Linked DNA regions of Homo sapiens: region 1 is linked to region 2. Evidence: promoter capture Hi-C in human tissues and cell types (Jung and others, 2019). All regions are on one chromosome and are shown on one strand. The core of a region is centred on a gene start or on the middle of the fragment in contact, and the rest is flanking DNA. Distances in the headings are between cores, read along the strand shown. Region 1 overlaps LINC01992 (long intergenic non-protein coding RNA 1992). Region 2 holds the start of POLDIP2 (DNA polymerase delta interacting protein 2).

Evidence for each region. Contacts are between HindIII fragments. The study calls those that stand out against the background at their distance.
Region 1: a contact is called between a fragment that was not itself captured here and the fragment with the promoter of POLDIP2 in region 2, in 1 of the 25 tissues and cell types used here (dorsolateral prefrontal cortex).

What each region holds. Positions count from the first base shown.
Region 1 is chr17:27,938,412-27,945,516 of GRCh38, forward strand. The region is part of intron 2 of LINC01992 (long intergenic non-protein coding RNA 1992); the gene reads right to left. Among named protein-coding and RNA genes, the nearest start is that of LYRM9, 49 kb to the left of the region's middle. RefSeq lists enhancers at 6,806-6,865, 6,916-6,975. The HindIII fragment of the contact is 3,084 bases long and covers 3,303-6,386 here.
Region 2 is chr17:28,352,554-28,358,776 of GRCh38, forward strand. POLDIP2 (DNA polymerase delta interacting protein 2) reads right to left here and starts at 4,974. Exons shown (of 11, transcript NM_015584.5): 1 at 4,735-4,974; 2 at 3,242-3,323; 3 at 1,935-2,032; 4 at 1,142-1,238; 5 at 688-763; 6 at 359-466. The coding sequence starts at 4,895. It overlaps VMA12 (vacuolar ATPase assembly factor VMA12), which reads left to right and starts at 5,094. Exons shown (of 6, transcript NM_152464.3): 1 at 5,094-5,328. The coding sequence starts at 5,118. RefSeq lists enhancers at 4,374-5,139, 5,252-5,351 and a silencer at 4,672-5,061. The HindIII fragment of the contact is 19,434 bases long and covers 4,195-6,223 here.

The DNA of each region.
Region 1 (7,105 bases), core at 3,595-6,094, 410 kb before region 2:
ATAAAGGGGTTTTATTAGCTCATGTTTTCAGCAAATATCTATCAAGAGCCTACTATGTGTTGTGCAATTGAAAAGTTTGAAGATGGTACTAGATTTAGGCAAAGCCTGATCCAGTAGCCTAAACAGTTTTAGCAAAGACTTGAGTGGTGTCTTTGCCTCTGCTCTGGCTTCCATGTATCCATCCTTAAGCTCCACATGCTAGTCCTTCAGCTCTCACTTACCCCACCCAGCACCATCCCCTCCGTACGTTGCTCTGTCATGTGGAAGAGAGAGTCTCTCTCAGAACCCCTGGGATTCACTCTCTGTGGCCATCCATGTGCCTGATCCCAACCAATCAGGGTGGCTGAGAATGGGATTTGGTGAGCTGCCTAGACCAGTGAAACCTACCCCAGGAGGTGGGAATGGAGCCAAATGCACCCCAGCTACTTCCAGGCGAAGTGGATTCCCCAGAAGAGAATAAGAGTGAATGGATGCAGAGAAGCAAGGGACAAATAGTCGTCACCGCATTGTGTCATTGTTCCGGCTACATGGAAAGCTCTCCATAATGATTGAGAGCACAGGCTGATGCCAGGCTGACTGAGTTAGAATCCTGGCTTCACACTTATCAGCTGTGTGACTTTGGGCATGTCACTTAACCTCTCTGTGTCTCAGTTTTCTCATCTGTAAAGTGAGGATAATAGCACCTGCCTCATAGGATTGAGGATTGTGATGAGGATTAAATGAGTTAGTATTTGTAAAGCAATTGGAATAGTGAATGATACGTAGCAAGCACTTAAAAGTGCACTGTGAACACAGTAGGGGGCCCAATAAATGCTTGCAGAGTGGGTGAAGGTACAAAGCTGGGAGCAAGTCCCACTACTGTCCAGACTTTCACCCCCAGCCACTCCATCTCTCAGGGCAGATCCTCCTGCCTTGGGGTCTGCTGTTTTGGAGATATTTTCCCAGAAAGCTGGCAGCTGGGCAGCGATGAGTGCCCCCCACCTATGATTAAGATGGCATAACCCTAGATGGCATCATTAGAGCACCATTTTTCCCTACAAACTGATGAGAAATCCATAGGGGTGAATTCTGGGGGCCCATCAAGGCACTCCTGGAATAAATGATCTACATGTGCCATGATCATCTGTATGACGATTTCAGGCTGTTTTATCCCCAGCCTGTGACTTTTCACGCTTCCTAAACTGTATAAAAATGAACTGCAATCAGGCTGATCTATAGATAGACAGTTCCTGTTTCTGAGCATGCTGAATGAGGGTGGGTGTGTTGATACATTTGCATAAAGCTGATGGATGTAGAAGGCTATGGTTTTTTGGTTTTGTTTTTGTTTTTTTTGAGGGGTTGGGGTGTCCTTTTGGAAGTGGAGCCAGAGAAGAGGTAAAATTAAGGAAAGTAAAAATAGGGCAGACTCATAGCTTTTTCATATGAAAATGAAGGAGGCAGTAGCTACAAGATAGTTTACTGATGCTCTGTCTGCAAGGAAAAAATGGGCTGGTTTGAAAAGCAAAACAAAACTGACCAACAGGTGACTGGGAGGGATGGGGAAAGGGGTGTGATCTGTCTTTCCTGTCTGCCTCCTCTCTGCTTTTTTCATGTATACACGTAAGGGAAAGATGTAATAGTCTCTGTTTTCTATGTACAGGGATATTTAGATATGCAAATGAGCACAGCCTGTTAATGAGCTGAGGGTGATTACACTGCAGGGAGCTGCCAGCCCCTGCTGAACAATAGGTGAAGAGACACCAGGTGTCTGTGAAGGGGGAAGGGGACCTCCCCACCCCTGCCTCTGTGCCTCTGACCTGTCTGCAGAATGAAACTGTTAGGCCAAGTTCTTATGCTCCTTCTAGCTCCCAGATCCTGAATCTAATGAGTTAAGGTGAGCAGCGGGAGACCAGGTAAGCCCTGGGGCTCATCAGGGAACTGATGAGCAGGTAAGCTCCGGAGGCTCCCGAACCTTACCTGGGCCGGGAAGGGTGATGGGCAGCCAGTGAAGCATGAAGCTGCCTCAGATGGGCAGGACCACTTGGCAAGTGCTATGGAATTGGGGTGGGAGAAGCAGGACCCTATGGAGTGAGCAGGTCATGCTGCGTCTCTTTGGGCAGCATTTGGTCACAAGATGGTGACTGGGCACCTGTGTGCTTATCAGAAGTCACGGCAAAGTTTTGCAATGAGAAACAGGAAATGAAGGAGTCCGCTTTTAATTTCTAGGGAGAGATGCTCAGTATTAGTAAAAAGGACGTGGACTTTGGAGTTGTACACATCTGAGTTTGTTGGGCTAGACACATTGGACATGTTATACCCATGAACCCTGGCTGACAAGGTGCCAGCCACACAGCCAATCTCCCCTACTGATAAGATAAAGGACTTGGCCTATCACATATGACTCTCCTGACAACCACTTGATGGTTACCTAGCGAAGGAGGTAATTAACAAAGAATCTTACAAGAAACTCGTGTTGCTCGGGCAAATGCCCGGCCTGGACATCCCAGGTCCAGAGGAGTGGAAAGAACCCAGCCAGTTCCAACGGGATCTGCAACGTACTTTCTGACCTGTTGTTCTGACGGCAACAGAGCAGGACACTGTCATCGCCTGCCAGCCTCCAAGTCTCTGTGACACTGTCTCAAAACAGTCTAAAGCTTTAAGTCCCCTCAAACCTCCCACATCTGCCATGTGGCTGGATCACTCCAAAATCAGGACATGTCCCTAACCTTCTATTAAGGGCATTCGACTTTATACCATGTCACTGAGCATCACTCAATCCTGCCTATAAATATGGATGCTATGCTAACAAGACTTATTGCTGATTTAATGGCAGTGAGTACAGGCTGGTGTGCTGCACACATACACAGAGAATGGTATTGAAAAATGGGAATGATAATTAGAGTTTAATAAATGGTAATTTGCTCCTTGCTGCTGTGTGTGACAGGGGTTGGGGAGGGATGAAATAGAGGGGCCCTTCCAGAAAGTGAAATGTGGATAGAACGTATGCCATGACAGCTTTATTTTAATTTTCACATTGCCCAGGATTGAAGTTAATGCTCATTTACCTACAGATCCTTTTCCCTGGAAATCACCTCTTGTGGAACATGAGTGGAGAAGACAATTAGACAAGAAATATTTATCACTGGGACCAAATTTTAACTAGAGTCATAGAATGAAGAGGTCAGGGCTCCAGAGACAAAGTGAAGCAGAGAATTAAAATAATTATCTGGATCATTCAGGGGAAATAAAATCATTGTTTTTGCTTGAGTGAGTGTCTGAATGATCTAAATAATTGTCCCCACCCTTTGTTTTGGTCTGGTAGTGAAGACCTGGCCAATCGATCCAGTAGCAAAGGATGGAAGTTGGAAGTTTGTGGCGAGAAAGGACAGGAAGGCTGAGTAAGCCTGAATCCCCCTGGTCCTGCAGGCCTGAGCATTGGGCAGAGGCTGGCCCAGTCCAGAGCTTGGGCTGGAGAGGGAAGGATGGTATTCCTGGAAGCTAGAGACCAGAAAGTAAGCAACGCTGAAAGTCGCATGGGAAACCAAGGTCGACAAACCCAGAATACAGCCAGAAGGAGCCAGGTTTAGTGAGTGAATCCAGGAAGCTAAAAGATTAAGCAGAACAGAATCATGAGGGGTGTGTGTGTGTGTGTTTGTGTGTGTAGTTAGGAAAGGTTAAACAATTGACTATACCAGAGGTTTGCAGCTTCTTGGACTCCACTGGCCAATCAAGAGAAGTGGAATTTTTCTGGGGCAGTGGCGGTATGCTAGTGTGCAAATGGAAGGTATGGTGTTATTCAGCGGGCCCTGCAAGTCTCCCCTTCCCAGAAACAACTACTTTATTTCTAGATATAGAATAATAATAATAGTAAAAAGACAGCTACTTTATGTAAATGCATGAATGATCCATTGCTTGAGATTTATTCGTGGCCTACTTGTGTGTTCATTTTTCAAACACAAATTTTCCTTGGAGGACAAATCAGTAGTTTCCAAGCTTACTATAGAAATTAACAATAACTAATTGTGGTAGATTTTAAATTCCACAGTTATTCAATATTGTTCCTTTTAAGAGACAGAACTTAATTCCCATCTCCTTGAGCATGGCTTGGACTGGGTGACTCATGACCGATAAAATATAGCAGAAGTTATGGTGTGTGATTTCCAAGTCTGGGTTATAAAGTGTTTTGTAGATTCCTCCTAGTTCCCTCTTTTGGATTGTTTGCTAAGGTAGAAGCCACCTGCCACATCACTAGGACACACAAGCAGCCAATGCAGATGTCCATGGAGTAAGGAACTGAGGCCTCCTGCCAATAGCTGCGTGAGTGTGCCACCTTGGAAGCAGACTGTCCAGCCCCAGTCAAACCTTCAAATGACTGCGGCCCCAGCTGACATTTCACTGCATCTTCGTGAAAGGCCATCAACCAGAACCACCCATCTAAGCCATTCCTAATTTCTAGTCCTCGGAAACTGAGTTATCTAATAAATGTTTGTTATTTTAAGCTGCTAAATTTTGGGATGGTTTGTTACTCATCAATAAATATTACAATAATCATAGCTAAGATTTACTGAACATGTACATGTGGCAGGCTTCACATATATTAACATATTTAAATGGCTTAACAATCATATGAGATAGTTACTATTACCAGCTCCATTTTGTAGTTGAGGAAACTGAAGTATACAAAGTTATACATAGTGAATACTGTTAGTTCCCTTTCCTGGCTGTAAATGTTGGCTGCTAAAGACTCACAGCTTCCCCTCTTTCCAGAGAATTGCCCCTGGCTGGATAGGAGTGGTCTCACCTAGGAAGTTATACACTGCCTTCCCCTCCCACTATGGCAGCCCTCAGCCACTGACTAGTTGATGCAGGGCAGGACCACCACAAAGTGGGACCAACTGTATGGTGCAATTCTCCCTCCAAATTTTTTTGCGGTGGAGTCAAGCAAAAGCTAGACTCTAGCTGGGATTACATTCTTGCTTAGATCCATTTGCTACCTCTATCCTGCTTTCCTTGCCCCTTTTCTCCCAAAAGCACTCCCTCAATAAATCAAGTGCGTTGGAATCTTGTCTCAGGCTCTTTTTAAGGAACTCAACCTAAGTTAGGCATAGTGATTTACCCAAAGTCATTGCTATGGTTTAAATATTTGTCCCCTCCCAAACTCATGTTGCCATTTAATTGCCATTGTGATGGCATTAAGAGGTGAGACCACTAAGAGGTGATTAGGCCATGAGCACTCCGCTCTCAAGAATGGATTAATGCCATTATCAAAGGAGTGGGTTCTTATAAAAGGTCCAGTTTTCCCCTTTTTTCTCTCTCTTATCCTCTTGCCTTCCTCCATGGGATGATACAGCAAGAGGATCCTCACAAGATGCTGGCACCTTGATCTTGGACTTCCCAGCCTCTAGAACTGTGAGAAATAAATTTCCATTCTTTATAAATTAGTCCATCCCAAATATTCTGTTGTAGCACCAAAATGGACTAAGACAGCCAAACAGCCTGGGTTTGCACGCGACAGTCTGACTTCAGAGTTCTTGCCCTTAAAAATATCTCTGGAAGAGTAACAAATACCAGTAGAGAGCAGTAGCACAATCATAGTTCACTGCAACCTTGAACTCCTGGGCTCAAGCCATCCTCCTGCCCCAGCCTCCCAAGTAGCTGGGACTACAGGCATGCATCACCACACCTGGCTAATTTGTAATTTTTTTGTGTGGAGATGGGGTCTTGTTACATTGTCCAGGCTGGTCTCGAACTACTGGGAGTTCCTCAAGGATCCTCCCACCACCTTGGCCTCCCAAAGTGCTGGGATTACAGGCATGAGCCATGGTGCCTGGCCACTACTAAATTTTCAGCTCCTATTTTGGCATGAGACAAGTGGTGGGTGGTTCAGTTCGGCTTTTTGTAACTGCTAGTTCTGTCCCCCACCCCGCCCCGCCAACACACACCATGGATAGTACCACGTGAAAGCCAGTCCTCCTGCCCCTCATATTCATCCCTTACCTCCCACCCTAATTAATCTGGTCCAGATCCTCATTCTTGCCATGAATTTTAGCCTCCTCTCTTAGATAGGATTTACATGTTCTTGCCTATAGTGGGTGAAATTGAGTCCTAACCCCTGGTACCTGTGAATGTGATCTTATCTGGAAGTAGAATCTTTGCAGATGTGATTAAGGTAAGGATCTGAAGATGAGATTATCCGGGATTTAGGGTGCGTCTAAATGCAATGACTAGTGTCCTTATAAAAGAAAGGAGAAATTGGAGACAAAGAGACACAGGGGGAAAACCACATGAAGACAGGGTGTAGAGATCAGAGGGATACATCTGCAAGCCACAGCATGCCAGGATTGGATTGCAGAGCCACAGAAGCGAGGAGATACACAGGGAACAGATTCTCCCTCGGAGCCTCCAGAAAGAACCAGCCCTGCTGACACCTTGATTCCAAACTTCTGGCCTTCAGAGCTATGAGACAACACGTTTCCATTATGTCAAGCCTTCCAGTATGTGGTCATTTGTTATGGCGGCCACAGGAAACAAATACACTTCCCTTCAGAGGCCCCTGTTCATCTCAGCCCTAAACCCAGCAGCAGTCTCTGGAGTGAGGTTGGGGAATTACAAAAGCCGTAACAGGCATGCATCACCACACCTGGCTAATTGTTAATTTTGTGTGTGTGGAGATGGGGTCTTGTTACATTGTTTACAAAGCCACAGCCTTGTGGTTGTTATAGTTCCCATTTTGCTTTGTTTTGTTTTGTTTTGTTTCATTTTGTTTTTTACAATCGAGGAAATGGGCCCAGGAAGTTCAAGTGATTTTTTCCAAAGTCCCTTACACCAGCAGTCCCCAACCTGTTTGACACCAGGGACCAGTTTTGTGGAAGACAATTTTTTCATGGACAAGGGGCAGGGGGGAAATGGTTTTGGGCTGAAACTGTTCCACTTCAGATCATCAGACATTAGTTAGATTCTCATAAGGAGCACGCAAACTAGATCCCTCCCATGTGCAGTTCACAGTAGGGTTTCCGCTCCTACGAGACTCTAATGACGCCGCTGCTCTGACAGGAGGCAGAGCTCAGGTGGTCATGCTCGCCTGCCCTCCACTCAGCTCCTGCTCTGCAGCCTGGTTCCTAACAAG
Region 2 (6,223 bases), core at 3,724-6,223:
CTGAGATGGAGTCTCGCTCTGTTGCCCAGGCTGGAATGCAATGGTGCAATCTCGGCTCACTGCAACCTCCACCCTCCTGGGTTCAAGTGATTCTCCTGCCTCAGCCTCCCAGGTAGCTGGGATTACAGGCGCCCACCACCACGCCCAGCTAATTTTTGTATTTTTAGTAGAGACAGGGTTTCACCAGGTTGGCCAGGCCAGTCTTGAACTCCTGACCTCAGATGATCCACCTGCCTGGGCCTCCCAAAGTGCTGGGATTACAGGCGTGAGCCACCGTGCCCGGCCCTGGAATTATTTCTATGATATTCTTTGATGAAAAGGCCCTCCCATTCCACCTCCCCTTCTTGAGAGAGATTACCTTTTGTCTGGTCATACAGAAGAAATCTTTCAAAGAGTTCATGTTGGATGGGAACCTGATCAGTGGAGGTGTAGGGGAGGATGTCTTCATGGCTGACATAGTCCAAGCCTGGCACAGAGATGCAAAAGACAGTGGTGAAACTCACAGGAGAGGAGAGAGATGGGGTTGAGAAGAAACATTAACTGGCCTTGTTCCAGTATGGGATAACCCTGATATCATACCTCTCAGCATCATAATCCCTCCCAGTGGATGACAGGACATCAGAATCCTCTCCCTGAGACACACCAGACTCCTTCTTGACGGGCACCATTCAAATGCTAACTACTCACCTGGGATGGCATAGAGGGCCCGACTGTCATCATGGTTAGCCAAGAAGGTCACAGCTTCTGTCTGAGATCTCTGAGACTAAGGCAAGAAGTGAATCAGTGGTGAAACCATGTCTCTGCTAAAAAGTACAAAAATTAGGCTGGTGTGGTGGCAGATGCCTGTAATCCCAGCTACTCGGGTGGCTGAGGCAGGAGAATCACTTGAACCCGGGAGGCAGAGGTTGCAGTGAGCTGAGATCTCACCACTGCACTCCAGCCTGGCGACAGAGTGAGACTCCATATCAAAAAAAAAAAAAAAGACGTGAATCAGGGCTTTGTTGGCCACTGTGCAGTCCAAGGCCTTGGGGACCAAGACTGACCTGGGCTCTGTTTGACCCCCTTCCCTCCCTTTGTCCCCATTGGGATGCAGGACTTTCCATGGAGAGGACCCCCAAGCCCAGCCATCTTGCTTACTTACTATATGTGGGCAGTCACGAGCATCAATCAGCACCTGATAGTAAGTGTGAGTTTTGCCTTTCACCTCCTTGGAGCCATGGCCAGCAGGGTTCTCTGCTCTATGGGGTGGGAGAAGGAGGCCAAGATCACCCCAGGAGAAATGGAAGCTGTGGCTGACTCAGCTCCCTACTCCTCCTCACCTAAACAGGCTGGTCTCTGATCTAAAGGGGCTTTAGCACCAGCTGGACACCTGCTCTGCAGCACCTCAGCTCAGCTGCTCCTCAGTTGGGGCAAATAATAGAGCATGGAAGACCATGGTATGGAGCCATCATCTGACCGTGTGGATACCTCTTAAAAGAAGGGGGCCATGTTGAGAAAATCAAATTGCCACCTCAGTCCCCAGGGCCCAGAGTACTCTTGTCTTCTTATATCCCAGGGACTGTCTGTGATCACTTAATGGGGCTGAACCTTTTCTGTTTTAATGTATTCTAGGGATGATGTGAGATTGAGGGAAAGACTCCAGCTGAACATCAAGAAATCAAGAAGACTTGTCCCCCAAATGCCCTCTGGGATACTCATAATGAAAATTAGGAATGGCTTAGGAAAGCATTCTGAGGAGGCCTAAAGGGACTCTCTGACTTAGACTATCCCTGGCACTCAGCACTTTTGTCTCCATGGGTCTTAGTCCCAGAGAAGTACTCTGGGGATGTTTCCAAGGCCTAGGAGGACGCTGTCTTCACCCCTAGTACCCCAATTACATATGTCTGCCATCTCCTCCTGAGGATACTGTGAGGCACAACCACAGGGAAACTTACTTTTCTGGAGCTGCAGAAGCCACATCCCGGTCATACAGTCTGGCCTGCCAGGGAAACAGGACGACACCTCGGTAGCCAAAAATGCTATGAAGGAAAAGCTGGAAGGAAAGAGGGGCCTCAGTGAGTCTGCAGTCCAGCAAATCCATCCAGGTGGGCCCCAGACCACAAAGCAACACAGGTGGAGGCAACTCCAGCACAAGGTCTTGCTACCTCTTCCCTTGAAGTCTGTGATCAACCAGACCAATGCTGGAACACTCTTATTTCTTCTTTACCTGGCTGACTCTACTCATCCTTTAGGTAAAAGCTTAGGCCTCCAGGAAGCCTTCCCTGACCTCCCTTCCACTTAGCACAATGTACAGCTATTGGCCATTTGCAAATCGTTCTTTTCTAGACTAGAAACTCCACAATAGCAGGAATCATGTCTACTTTGCTTTCTGATTTAACCCTAATGCACAATGCCTAGTCCATTGTAGGCACACAGAAAAATAAAATGTTGAACAAACAAAAAGTCTTCCTTACCTACAATATCCTAGAAGGGCCTAAATCTATCCCAGTGGACCCAGAACAAAGCTGATATAGAAAAAGAACCACACATCCAGAGTTTACCACACTGAAGTCAATTTTATTACGGCAAAGCATCAAAGGTATACTTTTCTGAAAGCTCCCTCCACGGCTTCCCACCATCCACTATGTTAGAGAAATCTTCAGCAACTTGGCTAAACCTCACTATAGTCCACACCATCCCTGTCCACATTAACTTGGAAAGAGAACCCACTGACACATTAAGTGCATTCAAATCCAGGAGAACAGAAACCCTATCTATAAAAATTTGATTCTGGGCTGGGTGCGGTGGCTCACGCCAGTAATCCCAGGACTTTGGGAGGCCAAGGCAGGTGGATCACCTGAGGTCGGGAGCTCGAGACCAGCCTGACCAACATGGAGAAACCGCATCTCCACTAAAAGTACAAAATTAGCCAAGTGTGGTGGCGCATGCTTGTAATCCCAGCTACTAGGGAGGCTGAGGTAGGAGAACTGCTTAAACCCAGGAGGTGGAGCTTGCAGTGAGCCGAGACCATGCCATTGCACTCCAGCCTGGGCAACAAGACTGAAACTCCGTCTCACAAAAAATAAATAAATAAAATAAATAAATAAAATAAAAAATGAATACAAATTTGATTCTGGAATGGCACCAAACATCAAGGTGGAATGAATGGAACACCATACCATGCAGGCCTGTGACCTAATCTGACTTTTTTCAGAAGCAGAGCACTCTATGAAAATGAAAGATGACCCAGCCCAATACTCACCTGCCCGGTCTCATATTTTCCATTCTGTTTTGGCACCTCAAACACACCAACTGTCTCCAACACTTTGCCCTCTGGTCGGTTTCTGAGTAGGAAGGAAAAGAACAAGCAACAGAAAAGCTGAGAAGGTAATGGTAGTTATCCATAAGAAAAAGCTCCTAGGATACTGAGGGGCCAGGGCGATGACAGCAGAGAAGGGTTTGGGGTAGTGGGACCAGCTGGAGCAGGAAAGGCTTTCCTCCTCCTTGGTGAAAACCTCCACAGTCTCCCAGTGTTAGATGTGACCGCTCCCATACTACTGTCTTCTCTCTTCACTGGGCATTCTTCATATCATGCCCTCACACTCTGCTCAAATGTACCCCTGCCCTTGTTTCTTCCCTAACCCACCCTCCTGACCTCCCACAGCACTTTAACTGTCTTGCTCACTTTTTCAATTTTTTTAGAAGGGGAGTATCTTTTTTTCTTCTTTTCTTACATTTTCTATATCACAAGTCATCAAACAATATCCTGCTCCCTTTACATTTCAGTTGTGTCCATGTCTTATCTTTATTAAATACTGTAAATTCCCTGGGAGCAATGCCTGAGTCTGATTAGCTGGTACTGCCCCCTCAGAGCCTAGTGTACAAGAGGTGCTCAAAAAATATTTGTCCTGTATTATAATTCCATGTCCATCTCCCCCTCTAACCTGTAGCCCTTACATTGCCCTTGAAAAGCTTAAACATCTCTAGATTTCCTACGGCACATCGCTCTCTCAATACCGTTTTTGTTCATATTCTCACAGGGGTCTTAAATTGCAAATAGCTATCATCTCTCCCCAATGTTCAGTGTCTAATATCAGCCACTAAAATGTCAGTCACCACTCTGAACAGGGCTGCTCTTTCTAGGGGCCCTTCAAATAAAGGCTGTTTTTACTGTTTTGAAGATGTGAACTTTATGCTTCCTCCCACTGATCCACCAGCCCATTTGATCCGCCTGTCCCATCCGTGGAAACAGTTTCCACACCATCCCCATGGCCTCAAACCCCCTTCCCCAAGTCACAGATAGAAAATCGATCTCCCCAAAGTCACTTGGAAACCTGGGGCCTACGAGGGTCCACACCCAAGAGTCTCGTTTCCCACCTCTAGCATCTTTCTGAGGCAGACCTTCACCAAATCCAAAGGCTGAGGGTTCAAGCCAATGCCCTAGGGCTGAATTAAAAAGCTTCCCTCTGACATCGGTGCTGGGGACCCCAGCCGGGGAAGTAGGATTCACTTGGGGAGGGTAACCTGTTCCCCCCCAGGGCCAGCCCTGTACAACCAGGGCTCTGGGCCGCGCTGGCTTCCCTGCTCCTGGCACATGTCCCAGACAGCGCAGGTCGGCTCCCTGCTCGGGACCCTCTCCCGGGTCAAACTCCAGTCACCCTCAGCAGGCCCGGGCCCCTGGCCTCCGCACTGGCTAGGAACACGCTCTCTGGGCTCCAGGCCCAGTTCCTCGCGCCCCCTGGCTCCGTCCCTCACCGGGACGAGAGGTGCCTCCGCGTCGTCGTGGTCGACGCTGGCGAGAAGGCTCCAGCTCCGGCCGCCGCACAGAGCGGCCTTGGCCACCGGGCCCCAGTCAGCGACCGGGACCACCAGCGGCTGCCCACGGCCAGGGCCCGCCGGGCTGTACAGGCTGCCATGTCCCGCCCGAGCGCCCGCCCGGCTGCTGACACAGAGCCCGACCCGCGGCCGGGCGGCGTTCCGCCCCAGTCCCACACTGCCCCGCGCGGCGTCCCGGCCCTCTTGGCCCGCCTGGTCCCACCCCGGAGCTCAGAGCAACTTCCGGTGCGCTTAGCGTTACTTCCGGCGCGCGGCGGGCGGAAGTCCGGGTTGGGGTCACCTGACCGGAGAGCCGGCTAGATATGGCGTCCTCTTTGCTTGCGGGCGAGCGATTGGTGCGTGCTTTGGGCCCCGGCGGGGAGCTGGAGCCAGAGCGGCTACCCCGAAAGCTGCGGGCCGAGCTTGAGGCCGCGCTGGGGAAGAAGCACAAGGGCGGTGATAGCTCCAGTGGCCCCCAACGCTTGGTTTCTTTCCGTCTCATCCGGGATCTGCACCAGCATCTGAGAGAAAGGGGTGAGCCCCAGTCTCCAGTCCGGGGTCCCCTCCTTGTGTCCAGATCGATTCCCTCCTGAGGTCTTTTCCCATCATTCCCCTTCTTCTACGGAGCACTCATCTAGACAAGTCAAGAGTCACTCCATAAATCCCAGGGCCACCCACTTTCTTAACTCCCATGGGAATTTCTCGTGGATGACAAATTTGCTTGTGCAGTTTCTGCTCTTTTGAGAGCCCCCTCTTCACTTCCAGGCACACCTAGGCCCAATTCACCCTTGAGAAAGTCTAGGTTTTTACCAAATACAAATATCACAGGTTTTGTCTCTTCTTTTTCTCCACTTTAGGAATCAGCTTAGCATAGTGAGCTTGTAGGAATCCGGATTTCTTTCCACCTCAAAAGCAAGAGTGGTGAAATCTGATACTTTGTTTTGTTTGTTTGTTTTTTTAATATAGGATGGCAAAAGCTGTGTTGAAAGATCTGGCCTGAGAGTAGCATGTGAGTTCCAGTCCTAGCTCTGTCACTAATCCTTTGAAGGAGTCATTTCTCCTCGCTGGGCCTCAGTTCCCTTATGTGTAAAGGGAAGGAACAGGACAAACTAGCACATAAGGTATTTTGCCAGAAGTAACATAGACCAGCCAGAAGTGCAAAGGGTAGACTGCTCAATTATTAGAACTAGAAAGGACCTTAGAAAGAGATTGCCTAGTATTAGTGTCCTCTGAGCATTTAGCATCACTATGACCTAAACTTATTTAGGGAAGAGCTGTTGTGGCCACAGAACTGATCTAACCCAAAGGCACAAGTAAATGGCTTACTTGTTAGTTATAACACTGGCAGGATAATTGAGAGCTGACAGCTAAAGTCACCTGCGCAGCACTGGGAGATACCTACATGGAATTATCCAAAATTCTTTTCAAT